Linked DNA regions of Homo sapiens: regions 1 and 3 are each linked to region 2. Evidence: promoter capture Hi-C in human tissues and cell types (Jung and others, 2019). All regions are on one chromosome and are shown on one strand. Each heading gives the region's core, a stretch centred on a gene start or on the middle of the fragment in contact. The rest is flanking DNA. Distances are from core to core; before and after follow the strand shown. Region 1 has its middle 260 kb from the start of FOXK1. Region 2 holds the start of SDK1 (sidekick cell adhesion molecule 1). Region 3 has its middle 380 kb from the start of FOXK1.

Region 1 (4,071 bases), core at 210-2,709, 1.1 Mb before region 2:
TCAGCAGATCGAGACGATGCTGGCCAACATGGTGAAATCCCGTCTCTACTAAAATACAAAAAAATTAGCTGGGCGTGGAGGTGGCGGCCTGTAGTCCCAGCTACTCAGGAGGCTGAGGCAGGAGAATTGCTTGAACCCAGGAGGCAGAGGTTGCAGTGAGCCGAGATCTCCAGCCTGGCAACGGAGTGAGACTCTGTCTCCAAAAAAAAAAAAAAAAAAAAAAGAATGACTTGATGGTCAGTTCCCTACATTTTCTTCTTCTTTTTTTTTTTCTATTTCTGATTGGGTATCAGAGGGGCCAGCAACAGGAAATGCCAATAGCTACAGAATTTTTAAAGCCTGAATACAAGTCTGTTCTCTAGCCAGGGGACCAGGAAAGGAGAAGTCTGTCAAGACAGAAAACTTTCAGACAGTAATCACTCTACCCCAGCCCAATAACCACAGAACATAGTGTGTTCCCCTATGTCCACTCTGCCAGCAAGGCTTGAGTGGGGAGCCTAGACTCCCATCCTTACCAGGCTGTAATGACAGGACCCATATCCCACTGAATGATGTCAGCAAAGGCGTAGAGTGAAACCAGGACATTCGTCCCCACTGAGTAGCAACAACATGTCCCTCTTCCACCATGCTGGGTCAGTAGAAACCACGCAGGGGGCCTGGATCTTCATCTCCACCCAGGAGCAACAGGACACCCTCTCTTCCCCTTTCTTGCTGGGGTTTTAACCACATCAGACCAATCTGGTTCAACTTTGTGTGTGTGTGTGTGGAGATGGGGGTCTCATTATGTTGCCTAGGCTAGTCTTGAACTCCTGAACATAAGTGATCCTCCTGCCTCAACCTCAAAGTGCTGGGATTACAGGCATGCGCCACCATGCTGGCCCTGGTTCAACATCCATGTAACAAACTTGTGAGTTGTTTTTCAGTTGCCATGGGGCCCAAGGTTGAAGGTCACATAACCTGAGCATGCCCAGATGAACCAAGGGTGCAGCCACAAGGGTACCCTAAGTGGTTGGAAGGAGAAGCGTGGACTGGATTAAGAAGCAGACCCCAAGGCCGGGCACAGTGGTTCACGCCTGTAATCCCAGCACTTTGGGAGGCCAAAGCGGGTGGATCATGAGTTCTGGAGATCGAGACTATCCTGGCTAACATGGTGAAACCCCGTCTCTACTAAAAATACAAAAAATTAGCCAGGTGTGGTGGCGGGTGCCTGTAGTCCCAGCTACTAGGGAGGCTGAGGCAGGAGAATGGGGTGAACCTGGGACGCGGAGCTTGCAGTGAGCTGAGATCACGCCTATGCACTCCAGCCTGGGGGACAGAGCGAGACTCCAAGACTCCGTCCCAAAAAAAAAAAAAAAAGAAGCAGACACCACATGGCAGGATCAAGGATCCAATGAGATTGAGCCCTGGCATCACCCTCTGGCAGGATCCAATCAGATCACACCTCATTGCCCTATGCTTATAAAGCCCAACCCAGCCCCCAGCTCAGGGAGACAGATTGGAGCATTTCCTCCCATTCCTTGCTGGTCAACTCAAATAAAGCTTTTCTATTTTTTTTTTTCTTTGAGACGGAGTTTTGCTCTTGTACCTTAGGCTGGAGTGCAATGGCAGGACCTCAGCTCACTGCAACCTCCACCTCCCAGGTTCAAGCGATTCTCCTGTCTAAGTCTCCTGAGTAGCTAGGATTACAGGTGCCCACCACCACGCCCAGCTAATTTTGTATTTTTAGTAGAGACGGGGTTTCACCAGGTTGGCCAGGCTGGTCTCAAACTCCTGACCTCAGGTGATCCACCGCTTCGGCCTCCCAAAGTGCTGGGATTACAGGCGTGAGCCACTGTGCCCGGCCAGCTTTTCTCTTCTCAAAAGCTGGTGCCATGGTATTGGCCTCTGTGCACATTGGGCAGCAAGCACATCAATTGCTTGGTAATCGGCTGGTGTCAGAGGAGGCCTATTAGGAGTCAGAGCCTTCACTACTGCCCAGCGGTAATGAGGTCATCCCTCTGCTTGTCCATGGTGGCCACACAGGGAACAGTCATGGTGAACCTTTGCCCCTCTCAGCTAGAAAGGTGTTGTTAGAGGAGGTAAAGGGTCGGAAATAGACAGGCAAAGGAGCTCCTGGGAAAAAACGTCTTGGAGATGCTGCCCTTTGACAGTCAGAGAAAAAGATGAAGGCTGCACTGGCTACTTCCGGCCTTGTGGTTGGGCTCTTCCGGCTCCGACGGGGTTTATCGAGCCCTAGTCAGAGATAACCACGGTAGGGACTTCCCGTGCTGATGAGCATGCCCACTCCTCCAAAACCTTGCCCGAGGATATCCTGTTGCTCATTATGATAATAAAAAGCTCATCCTTGGGTGGAGACTTTGCATGCATATGAGACATGTGATGTGTGGACCAGCATGCACAACCACAGAGTGTGCAAACCCAAGGTGACTACCCAAAACATGATTGCAAGTGACGCCCCCTCCTGCCCCTGTAGGAAAAATCATGTAAGATTCTCTAAAGACAGTCCCCCAGCAGCCCGCTCTGTCTCATCTCTTTCAGAGTGCACCATCCCTTTAAGTAAATGCTGCTACTGCTATGTTTCCAGCCTGACCAGCCTGGAGCTGTTTTCCAGACGGGTCAGCCTGCTTCCCTCTTGGGGTGTGCTTGTATCTCCTTAATAAACCTTTTGAGGTTGGGTACAGTGCTTACGCCTATAATCCCAGCATAATGGGAGGCCAAGGTGGGCGGATCACTTGAGGTCAGGAGTTCAATACCAACCTGGCCAACATGGTGAAACCCTGTCTCTACCAAAAATACAAAACTTAGCCAGGCATGGTGGTGCATGCCTGTAATCCCAGCTACTCGGGAGGCTGAGGCAGGAGAATCACTTCAACCTGGGAGGTGGAGGCTGCGGTGAGATGAGATCACACCACTGCACTCCAGCCTGGGCAATTGAGCGAGACTCTGTCTCAAAACAAAAACAAAAGCAAGACCTTTGCTTGGATTACGAATTGTCTCTTGGCTGAATTCTTTCTCCCACATTAGGCAAGAACTGAGGATTCCTGCACTTCCCAGTGACAGTATCAGTAGAGCCCAGGGGTGATCCTGAACTCCCACCCTGCCCAGCAGTAGTGAGAAGTCCCTCCCCACGTAGTGCCAATGACAGCTGAGGCAGGGACGGGACTTCCACTCCCACCTGGTGGTAAGAGAGTGCTGCCCCCTTCACCCACCAGAGCTGTGTCAGAGGAGGCCTGCCCAAACATAAGATTTAAGTAAGAGCTACAGTCACCTGATACAATACTCAGAATGTCCAGGTTTCAAGATAAATCACTTGTCATGCCAAGAACCAGGAATATCTCAGCTTGAATGAGAAAAAGCAACCAAAAGACACCAATGCTGAGATAAAATAGATGTCAGAATGATCTCACCAGGATTGAAAAGCAGGCATCATAAAAATGCTTCAGTGAGAAATCATAAACATGCTCAAGCCAAAAGATAAAAGGGGAGGGCGTCTCAGCAGAGAAATGGATAATGTAAAGAAAAATATAATAATTAAAAGAAAAAAACTCAATGGATGGGCTCAAGAGCAGAATAAAGAAGACAGAGGGAAGAATCAGTGAACTTTAAGATAAAACAGTAGAAATGAACTACTCTGCAAACAGAGAAAATAAACTTAAAAAAATGAGAAAGGGCAGCACTCCAGGGATCTGTGGGGCTATAGCCAAGGAAATAATATTCAAATCCTTGGATTACCAGAAGGAGAGGTGGAAGAGAGAGTGCAGCTGAGAAATTATTTGAAGGCATAATGGCTGAAAAATCCCCACATTTGCTAAAAAAGCACATGTGTACAGATTCAAGAGGCTGAATAGATCTTAGGCAGGATAAATCCAAAGACACATCATAGTCAAACTTGTGAAAACAAAAGAAAAGAAAAGCTCTTGAAAGAAGCCAGAGAGAAATGACACCTTATCGTAGGGGAAAAAGTTTTTTGAATGTCAGTGAATTTCTCGTCAGAAACAAACAAAACTCTTATTTGATTTTATTTTTATAACAGTGAACAAGCAACTCAATGGGGAGAAAAACAGTCTTTTC
Region 2 (3,636 bases), core at 917-3,416:
CCCACCATTTCAGTCTGTGCACCAATCTTCAAATGTATGAACGTACAGGTCTTAGTGCAAAATGCAAGTCACTGTTTAAAAAAAGAAAACTTAATAAACACATTATTTTAAAGGTCATCCTAAGTGATTTAGATTTCTTCACTTGAACCTGGTTGCTCTAACAATCTACAGATCCCACTGTACAAAATGACTTAATAAATGCTTTTCTTCCAGAGTAAGTCATTAAGCAAAAAGCACAAATAAGTGAAATGAAAATTTTCCAAGTAATGGAGGAGTTAAATTAACCAGAAATATGGCAATTTGTTTTCATGTAGTAAAACATAAGAGGGAGCATTTATGAAAGCTGGAGGGGGGTGGAGGGGCACAATTTAGATAACGTTACATAAGCATCAATAAAAAAAAGTATGAGTTCGTTGTTAAGCTATTGGATGATAGTTTTGAGCTCAGACCTTTAAAATGTTACAACATTTAAGTCATGTTACTACACATAAATCATCTTCACAGGACACAGAACACAGCTAATTTAAGTTTAATGCTCTCATCTTCGCCAATCTCAGAATATCGAGTTCCTTACCATGATTGTTCGTTAGCTGTATCTTGGAATACAACTAAGTTAATTTTCCTAAAACTACCATCAGCAAAACCAGTTCACTAATGTGTTTTAAAGACGTTACCAAAGGACGTATTAAAATAGTTATTTCTGGGTTGAGGGGGGTGTTTTGGTTTAAAGACCAGCAAACTTCAAAAGAAAACGATGCTAGCTGGCAGGGGTACGTTACGGGTTTTGTCGGGGGCGGGGAGGGGGTGGAGGGAAGCCCAGATTTGGGAAGGAAAGCTCGTTTCACAAGAGATCCCATCTCTCGTTTCAAAAGGTCATTTCCATTCAGCAGATCCTCTTTCCCTATTTCAGAGCTCACCACTGTATTCTAAACAGAAGCCAATAGAGGGAGAAAAACAAAGCCAAGTGCAAAAGCTGTGGGCACTGAAAGTTTTGCTCCACCGGCCGCGCAGCACCCACTTGGGGTCGGGCTTTGGGACTTGGGGGAGTCAGGAGCAGGCGGGGGCTGGGGAGAGGACGAGGCCCTGGGGAGGGGCTGGAAAAGGCTTTTCACAGCGACTGGCACTTGATATTTCCAAGTCTTCTGGATGTCACTCACCGGAAACCAGACCCTGCGGTGCGAAGACTCAGGTACAGACCAGCCCCTTTTTCATCCATGCAATGGGAAGGGGACTCGGGCATCCTTTTAAGGAGCTGAGAAATGGGTCCTCAACTTAAAAATTTTTGTTTGTGCTACTGCGGTATAAAAAAAATAAAACGCAAAGTAGCAGACGGGGTGCAGGCTCTACGGGGCTCCGTTTCCCTCTCCTCCGAGTCTGGCGTGGAGGAGCCCCTGGGCTCCCTAGAGCCCCCAGCAAGGCGCATCCCGACCCGGGCCGGGAAGCGGGGGGACCCCGGACACACTCTCGCTGCTCAAGTTCGCGCCTCCGCGCCCCGAGGCGACGCCCCCGGCCCGCGACCCCGCGCGCACCTACCTTGCGCCAGCGCCCGGAGCAAGTGCAGCTGCAGCGCCAGCAGCGCCCACCAGCCGCGGCGGCCCGGCCCCAACTTTGCCGCCCGCCGCCCGCCGCACCGCCCCGCGCCCGCCGTGTCCCCGCCGGAGGTCTCGGGCGCCGCCCGGGGTCGCGAGGGCTCCGGGCCGGGGCGCGGCGCCAGCGAGGGGCGGGCGCGGCCGGGCGGGGATCCCCGCGGCCGCCCGGGGCCCGCGCGCTCAGGGGGCTCCGCGCCGCCGCCGCCGCCACCGGCCGCCGAGGGCCGGGCGCCCCGGGCCATGCCGAGCAGCCGCCACCCCGAGCGCCGCGCCGGACGGACGGGCGGGCAGGACAGGCGGGACGGCTCCGAGCGGGCGCGGCCACTCCGCGGGAGGCGCGGCGCCCCCCGGCCCGAGGTGAGCGGCCGCCCAGCGCTGAGGGGCGGCGTCCTGGGTCCCCGCGTGAGGGGCGCGGCGCGGGCCGGGGACGAGCCGGGCGAGAAGAAGTTGTCAACGGGGGAAATTCGCGTCCGGCGCTCACGCAGTCCCGAGCCCGCCGCGCTAGCTCCGAGGGGTCCGCCGGGCGCGGAGGAGCCGCCGCCGCCGCCGCCCCCGCCCGGCGCTGAGAAGAAAGTGCGCCCGCCCGCACGTCGCGGTCGCGCTCGCCCTCAGCTGCCGCGGCCGCCGCTCCCCATTCACAGCCCGGCCGCACGCGCCGCCCGCGCCCGCCGCCCGCCGCCCGCCGTTGATTGGCCGAGGGAGGCGGCGCCCGCTCCCAGGGCCCGCCCCCCAGGCCCTCGCTTGTTTTCAAAGTCGCGGCGCCCGCCCGCCTGCAATTTTGTGCCGGCCGCGGCGCCTGGCTCGGGCGGCTTCCCGCGCCGGCTGCGCCCCCTAGGGACCCGTAGTGGGGACTGCAGGCGGCGTCGATTCGGCACGCGCTCCCGTGGCGGGCTCGCGGGCGGGGGTGGTGCATCCTCGCCCGGCCCCGCAGCGGTGCGGGCGCCCGAGTGGGAAGGGCTCAGGTGCAGCAGGACGCGCAGATCGTGCGGCAGCCCAGGGCCGAGGGCGGAATAGGGCGCGCCCCGAGAGGCGCCCGGCTACCACCAGCTAGCTCAGTGCTTGGGGGTGACGCGCCAAGTTACCGTAATTGCAAACACGCGCAATCGGGTTTTTAATTTCTAGCAACCAAAGGCACCACTGGGTGCAAACTCGCCTCCTGTTCAGAGGAGTGGATATGGCATTGTAGAAGCGTCCAAGGTCACTTTTGGCCGGCGCTGGAGGAGGGCGGGGTAGGGAGGGACACATTGCAGGTTTCCCACCGTGGAGTGGGCGAGTCTTGGGGCAGGGTCGGCCAGTGGGAGGGTCTCCCAGGGCGGGACCCGGGAGCCTGTGGGGCTGGGGGTGGGGACGGGCGCCGACGCTCAGCATGTGGTAAGCATTAGCAGAGTTTATGGGGTGAACTAAGCGCACTGGAGGCTGAAAGGCCAGCATTTTTGTGGGAGGAGAGCTGGAGGTGACACGCACTGCCTCTGGAGTTGGCCCGGGAGGAGCCTGGGGACGTGTGATGATGGTCGCATGAGATCATGTAAGAGATGAACGCAGAGGGGCTGGGTGTGAGCCCAGCACGGGGCTGACTCCCCAGGAATCACCTGATGCAGTAGGTTTATTGTCCCAGCCAAGAAAGACCCCGGGCGAGTGGAGAGCAGGTCACAGGGCTGGGGTCTGGGATAGGAGCCAGCTCCTGCTCACAGAGCGCCTATGGTATTTGTCAAATAACTGATTGGTGGCTCAATATTAGCCTCTGTACACGTCCCCTAAGACTTAACAATGACCACGTGAACAAAACAGGGAAACTGAGGTCCAAGTACAGCCGCCGAACAGGAGGTGGTTTCAGAAAGAGGCCTCCCATCTGCCCCCTTTCCACACCATGCTAGGAGGGGCAAAAAAGTTAAAGGAGCCACGGAGTGCCCTGTTCTGAGGATATAGTGAGGGCGCATAGATGGGACGAGCCGGAAGAGGACAGCTCCCCAAGGACATGGGGATGAGACTGGAGGCAGAGAGGCATGTCTGTTTTTATCTTCTGTTGGTAGCAAGGCTGGGTTTCTTC
Region 3 (3,591 bases), core at 344-2,843, 1.0 Mb before region 2:
GGATCCTCCTGCCTTGGCCTCTCAAAGCACTGGGATTACAGGCATGAACCACTGCCTGCCACCTAAAAGTGGTGTGTAAAAAAAATAACCAAAAGCTATTATCAAACAGAAAAAAAAGGACAATTCAGGTAATGAACAGAACTAGGTTCCAGTAATTCACTGAGGAAACTGCTTCCATCTGTTTAAAAGAACAAAGTCTTACCTTTGAGTCATTCTTATCCTTACACCAGCTTCCTGAGGCAGAAACGTACATCTCTGCAAAAAGATTTGTCCAAGTCCTTATCCGCCGCCTCACCCCTCACCCGTTTCCACACCACCGAAGGCTGCAACATCCTCATCGGTCCTGGGCTGCAGGGGAAATGCTGTGAAGTGCATCTGTATTCCAAAGCAAAATTATCCTATTCTTGAAGCTTCGTTGAACAGGATGTGTTTTGGAGATTGAATGTATGTAGATTTATTTACTTTCTAAAAGCAACACCCTGTACTTGGGGGCCGCCAAGCGAGACTGCCCAGGGAAGCATTTACAGCTGTTTTAATAGTTATTAAACCATGGGCAGAGGCGTTCCACACCCATCAGGTATCTGCAGAGACCGCGTAGGCAGAGAGGCCTGACGGTTCCCCATGGAGAGGGCCGCAGCGGGGGGCAGGGCTGGCTCCTTCCTGGTGCTGGGATTGTTTGCACAGAAGAGCAGAGACACAGTGGGTTGGAAGGGCCCAGGCAGGGCTGGGTGTGGTGGCTCACGCCTGTTAATCCCAGCACTTTGGGAGGCCGAGGCAGGCGGATCACTTAAGGTCAGGAGTACGAGACTAGCCTGACCAACATGATGAAACCCTGTCTCTGCTAAAAAATATAAAAAATAGCTGGGCGTGGTGGCAGGTGCCTGTAATCCCAGCTACTCAGGAGGCCGTGGCAGGAGAATTGCTTGAACCTGGGAGGCGGAGGCTGCAGTGAGCTGAGATTGTGCCACTGCACTCTAGCCTGAGTTACAGAGCGAGACTCTTGTCCCCCCTACCTCCCCCCCAAAAAAAAGTAGGGACCCAGGCTGGAGCCGGTGCCTGAACCTCTAGTCCCCTGGGAACCTCAGCCCTGGACAGGTGCACAGGATTCACAGTGACACAGACAGACCTGCCTGCATGCTGCCTGGCCTGGACCACAGGTGCACGGGACCAGGCAGTGAGCGAGGCCTCAGCTCACCATTTCTAACTCTAGTAAAATCTTCACATTTTTAAATACCTGTTCTAAATTCATCTGTGCTCTGGGCCTTGTAGCCTGTGCCAATAAAGTGCAGGGCCGGGAAAGGCACCTGGGGCTTGTCTCACTTCGTCGCATCAGCTATAAGAAGGAGAGAGAGAATCCTGGATGTTCATGGCTGGGCTTCAGAGCCACAACCCCACCTCCCCTCGGCTCCAATTCCCAGATGCCGTAAAGAGCCAGCTGCTCCAGGCCGGGCGCAGTGGCTCATGCCTGTAATTCCAGCACTTTGGGAGGCCGAGGCGGGTGGATCATGAGGTCAGGAGATCGAGACGATCCCGGCTAACATGGTGAAACCCTGTCTCTACTAAAAATACAAAAAATTAGCCGGGCTTGGTGGCGGGCACCTGTAGTCCCAGCTATTTGGGAGGCTGAGGCAGGAGAATGGCGTGAACCCGGGAGGCGGAGCTTGCAGTGAGCCGAGATCGCGCCACTGCACTCCAGCCTGGGCGGCAGAGCGAGACTCCGTCTCAAAAACAACAACAACAAAAAGAGCCAGCTGCTCCTCCGCTCACCCCTCCCCGATGGTCCCACTTGCTCCTCACATTCTTGCCAATGTTTTGCACCAGAAGGTCTCCCTGAAGTTTGAGGAGGGAAACGGCCGGAGCACAAGGATAACAGTTCAGCATTTTGCCCTGGACGCATCCACAGGTCACCAGCGCTGAGAAAGACACTTGGGTGTGTCAGTGCAGGTCTCCGGTGAAACCTCCGTTAGCCGGAATTGCTGAAACCAAGGGGCAGTCAGATTCATTAAAGAGAAATAAGGGCCGGGTGTGGTGGCTCACACCTGTAATCCCAGCACTTTGGGAGGCCAAGGCGGGAAGATCGTTTGAGCCCAGGTGTTTGGGTTCACAGTGAGATCCATTTCTACAAAACATGTAAAATAGCAAGGCACGGTGACACACACCTGTAGTCCCAGCTACTCGGGAGGCTGAGGTGGGAGGATCGCTTGAGCCCAAAAGTTGGAGGCTGCAGTGAGCTACGATGCTGCTACTGCACTCCAGCCTGGGTGACAGAGTGAGACCCTGTCCTTTTTTTTTTTTTTTTTAAAAAAAAAGGAGGAATGAGATGCCCTGATGAATAAGAAAAAGACTTTTCTTGTTACAAGAAAAAGACTTGCTTGAACAAGAAAAAGACTTTTATTTCATCCTTTTAAAAAGCATCAGGTTAGTGAAAACATGATGTTTTTTTTAAATGTTTGAAGTTTGAATTGAGTTTCTTGCTTCTTTTAAGTCTAGTCTCTGAAAATCAGTCTCTCTGGGACTTAAGGATGGTGTTTGTGTTTGCAATCCCCAAGCAGGAGAGGAAACTGGCCCAAATTCTAGAGGGAGGGTTATCGGTGCAATGTTGGTCAATGTGCAACAACCGGCTGGCCAAGAGAACAGGCACCCGTCTTTATGAGTGCCTGTGGGGTTAAAAACTCCTGCTGGGCCGGGCGTGGTGGCTCACGCCTGTAATCCCCGCACTTTGGGAGGCTGAGGTGGGCGGATCCCGAGGTCAGGAGATCGAGACCATCCTGGCTAACACAGTGAACCCCCATCTCTACTAAAAATACAAAAAATTAGCTGGACGAGATGGTGGGTGCCTGTAGTCCCAGCTACTTGGGAGGCTGAGGCAGGAGAATGGTGTGAACCCGGGAGGCGGAGCTTGCAGTGAGCCGAGATTGTGCCACTGCACTCCAGCCTGGGTGACAGAGCGAGACGCCGTCTCAAAAACAAAAACAAAAAACAAAAAACAAACAAACAAAAAAACAACTGCTGAGGTCAACTTGAAGCTACCACAGCCACAGACCTGAACATGAAGTTGGGACAAAATGTGCAGAATAGGCTCTCACGCGTAGCAGGTGCAGGCTCCAGCCCACAGCTAGGTGTGCTTCTCCCAGCTGCAGATCTTCGTCTTTTTAAATTTGTTTCTATTCCAGCTACAACTTTACTCTGCTATCATCTGGCTCCCTGTGCCTAAATGTCAAATGCAGATAGAAAATCTGGCCAAATTGGCTGGGTACTGTGGCTCACGCCTGTAATCCCAGCACTTTGGGAGGCCGAGGTGTGCAGATCACCTGAGGTCAGGAGTTTCAGACCAGCCTGACCAACATGGCAAAACCCCGTCTCTACTAAAAATACAAAAATTAGCCAGGCATGGCGGCAGGTGCCTGTAATCCCAGCTACTTGGGAGGCTGAGGCAGGAGAATCACTTGAACCTGGGAGGCGAAGGTTGCAGTGAGATCGTGCCATTGCACTCCAGCCTGGGTGACAAGAGCGAAACTCCATCTCAAAAAAAAAAAAAAAAAAAAAAAAAGACAGGAAAAGAAAGAAAATCTGGCCAAATTGAGGGTTTGA

What was found. The method cuts DNA at HindIII sites, captures the fragments that hold promoters and counts their contacts. A contact is called where the count stands out against the background at its distance.
Region 1: a contact is called between a fragment that was not itself captured here and the fragment with the promoter of SDK1 in region 2, in 1 of the 25 tissues and cell types used here (dorsolateral prefrontal cortex).
Region 3: a fragment that was not itself captured here is called in contact with the fragment with the promoter of SDK1 in region 2 in 1 of the 25 tissues and cell types used here (IMR-90 fibroblasts).

The regions. Positions count from the first base shown.
Region 1 is chr7:4,421,906-4,425,976 of GRCh38, reverse strand. No RefSeq gene overlaps it. Among named protein-coding and RNA genes, the nearest start is that of FOXK1, 260 kb to the left of the region's middle. The HindIII fragment of the contact is 7,016 bases long and covers 1-4,071 here.
Region 2 is chr7:3,299,782-3,303,417 of GRCh38, reverse strand. SDK1 (sidekick cell adhesion molecule 1) reads right to left here and starts at 2,166. Exons shown (of 45, transcript NM_152744.4): 1 at 1,534-2,166. The coding sequence starts at 1,831. It overlaps SDK1-AS1 (SDK1 antisense RNA 1), which reads left to right. Exons shown (of 3, transcript XR_001744897.3): 1 at 1-1,189. RefSeq lists enhancers at 1,365-1,865, 2,575-3,086, 3,087-3,599 and a silencer at 2,140-2,689. The HindIII fragment of the contact is 11,292 bases long and covers 1-3,636 here.
Region 3 is chr7:4,300,180-4,303,770 of GRCh38, reverse strand. No RefSeq gene overlaps it. Among named protein-coding and RNA genes, the nearest start is that of FOXK1, 380 kb to the left of the region's middle. The HindIII fragment of the contact is 5,021 bases long and covers 1-3,591 here.